Linked DNA regions of Homo sapiens: region 1 is linked to region 2. The links are contacts of gene promoters, found by promoter capture Hi-C in human tissues and cell types (Jung and others, 2019). All regions are on one chromosome and are shown on one strand. The core of a region is centred on a gene start or on the middle of the fragment in contact, and the rest is flanking DNA. Distances in the headings are between cores, read along the strand shown.

Region 1 (2,898 bases), core at 365-2,864, 37 kb before region 2:
AATAATGTTAATGAGTATTTAGCATCCTTGGAAGCATAGCTTAATTGACTACACAGTCCTAGGGGACTAAGAGAATGAAGTGTAAGAATGGAATCTTGGCTTTACTTGAGCCAATTTTTCAAGCCAAAAAAATTAAACAAGGATAGGAATACATGTGTCTGAATAGTTCTACTTAAAAAGTCAAGAGACATCAGGTCGTAGGATTAGGAAGGGAAAAAAACACGATTAATTTACATTGGGGTTGTACCATTGCTTTAAGCAACCTGTCCTTGCTTGTAGATGGAAATTTGGAATATAAAAAGTATGCTATCCCTAAATTTCAGGTAGCTTACATAACCTGAAAGCCACTTGCTCTACTTTCAGAGGGTGTTCCTAAAATAGAATTATTTATGGTGGAGAAAATTGTACTTTAAGGTGGAAATAGCTGAGGGAACCACAGACCCATGTGGTTTTTGGAAAAGAAAGCCCTAATTCTTTAGATGCATTATTAAAATTATCAGTGAAGGGGTAATTGGACCCACAGATTCCTTTTGTAGAATTCACTAAGGAACATGAATTAAAGATACTAGCATCTTGGTTGGATGCCAAGAAATATAACAGTACAAATACAGCCTTGAGGAAACACTCTTTTTTTTTTTTTTTTTTTTTTTTGAGACAGAATCTCACTCTTGTTGTTCAGGCTAGAATGCAATGGTACGATCTCGGCTCACTGCAACAGTACGATCTCAGCTCACTGCAACCTCCGCCCCCCAAGTTCAAGTGATTCTCCTGCCTCAGCCTCCCCAGTAACTGGGATTACAGGTGCCCACCACCATGCCCAGCTAATTCTTGTACTTTTAGTAGAGACAGGGTTTCACCATGTTGGCAGGCTGGTCTTGAACTCCTGACGTCAGGTGATCCACCCGCCTTGGCCTCCCAAAGTGCTAGGATTACAGGAGTGACCACTGTGCCCGGCCGAAACACTCTTATTGAAAAGACAAATGATACTTCTAATGTAAAGTTAAATTGCAACAAAAGGCATATACGATAATTCAGAAAACAAGAAGTGTAGCTCTCAACTCTTCTGTGGGAGGGCTTTGCCATTTGATCCTTTTATGGGATATGGGGCAGGGAAAGGTGAGTGAGAGGACAGGGCAAGGTGGGAAGAACAGCTGTAAGTAAAGCCTAGATGTGAATGAGAACAAGTTCACCAGTGTCAGCGGGAGCAGAGATTTTGCATTGGGAAATCTGAAAAAAAGAATAGCATCACATTAAGAACAGACATGAACTTCCTATTAAGACATTGTCAGAAAGAGGTAAAGAGGTTTCAAGTAGGAGAGTTAAATGAGGTAAATGCTAAAGATTATTTATTTGACAGTCAGGACATTTTGGAGGAAATTACTACTGGAGAGATGAGACAAAGTACTGTCTCAGTTCCTGCCATCAGCGCTTCCTAACTTTTCAAGGTTCCTGCCTTACATTGGTGTAGTTTGTCTTTCCTTTTCTACACGTTTTACTGAGAACTACTGAGAATCACAATAATAGCTGCCATTTATTAAGGATCTGTTTTCTGCAAGTTTTATAGACATTCTCTCACAAAACAACGGCCCAATCTGATAAGAAACACCCCTGTTGAGGAAACAGGCTGAGGGAGCGTGAGGAGCGCCCCTGCTTTCTCAAAGCTGGTAAGTGATAAAGCCAGGACTTGACGATGGCTCTGTTTAACTGCAACATCAGTATTCTCTTCACTATACCTTTAAAATAAGGGAGGCTGAGGCCGGGGTCAGTGGCTCACGCCTGTAATCCCAGCACTTTGGGAGGCTGAGGCAGGTGAATCACCTGACGTCAGGAGTTTGAGACCAGCCTGGCCAACACGGTGAAACCCCGTCTCTACTAAAAATACAAAAAATTAGCCCGGTGTGGTTGTGGACACCTGTAATCCCAGCTACTCAGGAGGCTGAGGCAGGAGAATCGCTTGAACCCCGGAGGTGGTGGTTGCAGTGAGCCGAGATCGCGCCATTGCACTCCAGCCTCATCAACAAGAGTGAAACTCCGTCCCCAAAAACATAAATACATAAATAAATAACATTCAAAAATAAAATAAGAGAGGCTGAAGAAAAAAAGGAATAAGAGTTTTGTCTTTTTGAAATTTAGTAAGCTGTGGGAATTCTATGAACCACTACATTTCATTGCTCAGCTTCATGATACCTCCTTCTTTCACTGTTAGTCATATCTGTGGGGAAAAAAATAAGACTGAGAAATCTAGCCCCTCTTAAACACCACTCATGCTTTTTATGTGTAAGCTATTTATTCATTCATTGAAGAAATGTTGACTGAATAACTACTATCTGCTAAGCATGCTCAATCTTAATCCAATAGCAAAGCTGGAAAAGGCTCTTGAGATGTCCCAATAAAACACATTTAAATGCAGTGATAAAAATGAATAAATAGATATAATGCAGCAAGTAGACAACCGTGTGTTGTTTTTTTACCTCATCTACCATTGTTTCACTTGAAAGACAAGTCCAACTTTAAAATATAGGAATAAACCTTAACTTTATGGAATAGTGGTTATAGTTACAGATTCAGAAAATACATTTCACTAACATAAAAGTGTCTGAGGATTTTTTAGAAAGCCTCCTTTAAAAAAATATCTAAAATCACTTTCAAGAAATGTTATACAATTTATAGCCAGGTGTGGTGGCTCATGCCTGTAATCCCAGCACTTTGGGAGGCCAAGATGGGAGGATCACTTGGGGCCAGGAGTTTCAGACCAGCCTGGTCAACATAGCAAGATCCCATCTCTTAAAAAAAAAAAAAAAAAGAAATGTTCTACAATTTATAGTATTGGCCATATAGTCACTAATCTGCCTCCATACAATAGACAATAAATAGCAGAAGGTCAGTATATTTCCAAGT
Region 2 (2,774 bases), core at 162-2,661:
AAAGAAAACTGAAAATGACAAACACTTGTTGACAAGTTCCAATGGAATGAACAGAATGTTTTAGAACAGTTATAAGACGATATTGGTAACAAATTACTTATTACGAAGGGAATGGAAAAAAGATTCAGAGCATTTTACGCAGGTATTTTATACCTGATTTATGCACGGGGGTATGTTACTCACTGAAAGATTCCAGATTTAAATTGTGGGGGTTGGATAACATAATCTCTCTTCGATCTAGTTCTAAATACAAATATTAAGCCTGCAATAATATTGAGCTGGTTGGAGGAGAAGGATTTGGCTGTTCAGAATAGCAACAAGAGCCAAAACACCAAGGCAAGTGGTGGAGTAACGAAGGCAGAAGGAACGATGCACTTAGGAATTGCTGGAGCCTAATGTTGGACACGGAATGTGGCAAAATATGAAGCAGGTGTTCTCATAGGTCACTCTAAGAAGCCAGAGCAACTAAAGGAAATTTCATTCACCAATAATATGGCAGCACTGGACAACCAAGTACCTTTACAATGGGCTTTTTCTGTCCCTGGGAAAATGATTTGGTCCATTAATCTCAGGACCCAGGGTGACCATGGTCCATTTAAGTTACTAGTGTATTTAACACATTCAAAATATTGTCTGGACCTGGCACGGTGGCTCATGTCTGTAATCCTTTGGGAGGCCTTTGGGAGGCCGAGGAAGGACGACCACTTGAGTCCAGAAGTTCGAGACCAGCCTGGGCAATATAGTGAGACCTCATCTCTATGAATAAATAAATAAATAAATAAATTTACAAAAGAAAAAAATGTAGTCTGAAAAAGCTCAGCTTCAGTTTACTGAGGAACTGATTGGAAAAATAAATTATGAGGCCCCACCCCACCACCCAAGACATCCTGAATCAGATCATGGAGGGTGAGGCTGAGGGGCTGAGGAATCTGTGCTTCCACAAGCCCTCCAGGTAATTTTTTCTTTTTTTCTTTTTTTAGACAGGCTCTGACGCCCAGGCTGGAGTGCGGTGGCGCGATCATAGCTCACTGCAGCCTCGACCTCCTGGACTCAAGCGATCTTCCCACTACAGCCCATGCCGTCCCACCCCCGCCCCTCCCCCCACACTCCAGTAGTTGGGATTACAGGCCCGCGCCACCACGCCCCGCTAATATTTAAATTTTTTGTAGAGAGGAGACCTGGGATGGAAGGAGATTGCGGGGACGGAGAGGATGTGGGTAGGGGGCCTCACTGTGTTGCCCAGGCTGGTCTTGAATTCCTGGCTGAGTTCCCAGACTCAAGTTGATCCTCCCTCCGCAGCCTTCGGAGTGGGTGGGACTACAGGCCTGCACCGCCACGCCCAGCCCTCCGGACGATTCTTAAGCTCCTGAAGTCTAGAAGCCTTAGCTAGATCAGGCCATAAACAAAGGGCTTTGGAGACAGGCAGTCCGCGGCAGATAATGATCGGAATTCCGGCTCCTCCCTTCCAGGGTGGAACCTGAATGCAGCCCTCTAAGATGCAGCCAGGAAAGCACTCCGCCTACCCGGTTGGGTGTGGCCCCTGGTGCTTTGAATGGGCAATTTAGAGGAAAGCTGACCTAATGGCCTGAGTTGATCCTAATGCCTTAGGTAGGGACAGGATTTCGAGTGGGAAGACCATTTCATTACCATGTTTTCTTTTCTTCATTGCATTTTTTACAATATAATCATTTTAGGCCGGGCGCGGTGGCTCACGTCTGTAATCCCAGCACTTTGGGAGGCGGAGGCGGGCGGATCACCTGAGGTCAGGAGTTCAAGACCAGTCTGGCTAACATGGCGAAACCCCGTCTCTACTAAAAATACAAAAATTCGCCGGGCATGGTGGCACATGCCTGTAATCCGAGCTACTAGGGAGACTGAGGCAGAACAATCGCTTGAACCCGGGAGGCGGAGGTTGCGGTGAGCCGAGATTGCGCCATTGCACTCCAGCCTGGGCAACAAGAGCGAAACTCCGTCTCAAAAAAAAAAAAAAAGTAAGAAAATCTATGAAAATCTATGGGAAGAATCTATATTGGAATAGCTTAGGGAAACTTTAGAGAAGATTACACTTTTTGAGGAAGAGCTTACCAGTCGTGGAAGTAGTCAATACAAACAGGGAACAGACTCCCTAGCTACTCGGGAGTCTGAGGCACGAGAATCGCTTGAACCCAGGAGGTGGAGATTGCAGTGAGCCAAGATCACGCCACTGCACTCCAGCCTGGGCGACAGAGAGAGACTCTGTCCCCCCAAAAAAAAAAAAAAAAAAATCTTATTTGTTTTCCTGGGGTTTTTTCCCCAGCTTTTTGAGAATGTTTTATTATGGGAAGGTTCAAACATGTACAAAAGTGTGTCTACTTTTTGTCATAGTAATTTACTTACAGCCAGTCTGGTTACATCTAAATTGCCGTCCATTCCTCCTCCATGGGTTATTTTGAAACAAGTGCCAGATCGCCTATGATTTCGTTCATAAATTCAGGGAAAAGGCCGGTGCCATGGCTCACACCTGTAATCTCAGCACGTCAGGAGGCCGAGGTGGCAGGAACAGTTGAGCCCAAGAGTATGAGACCAGCCTCGGCAAGATAGTGAGATCTCATTGTTACCAAAAAAATAAAAATGAAAATAAAAATAAAATAACCGGGCGTGTGGGTGTGGTGAGACATGCCTGTGGTCCTAGCTACTCAGGGGGCTGAGGTCAGAGGATCCCTTCAGCCCAGGAGCCCGAGGCTGCAGTGAGGCTGTCTCAATAAATAAATAAATAAATCCAGGGGGAAAAAATA

Evidence for each region. Contacts are between HindIII fragments. The study calls those that stand out against the background at their distance.
Region 1: a fragment that was not itself captured here is called in contact with the fragment with the promoter of DPPA2 in region 2 in 3 of the 25 tissues and cell types used here (psoas muscle, spleen and stomach).

What each region holds. Positions count from the first base shown.
Region 1 is chr3:109,278,248-109,281,145 of GRCh38, forward strand. No RefSeq gene overlaps it. Among named protein-coding and RNA genes, the nearest start is that of DPPA2, 37 kb to the right of the region's middle. The HindIII fragment of the contact is 9,547 bases long and covers 1-2,898 here.
Region 2 is chr3:109,315,106-109,317,879 of GRCh38, forward strand. It overlaps DPPA2 (developmental pluripotency associated 2), which reads right to left and starts at 1,412. Exons shown (of 9, transcript NM_138815.4): 1 at 1,179-1,412. The HindIII fragment of the contact is 15,346 bases long and covers 1-2,774 here.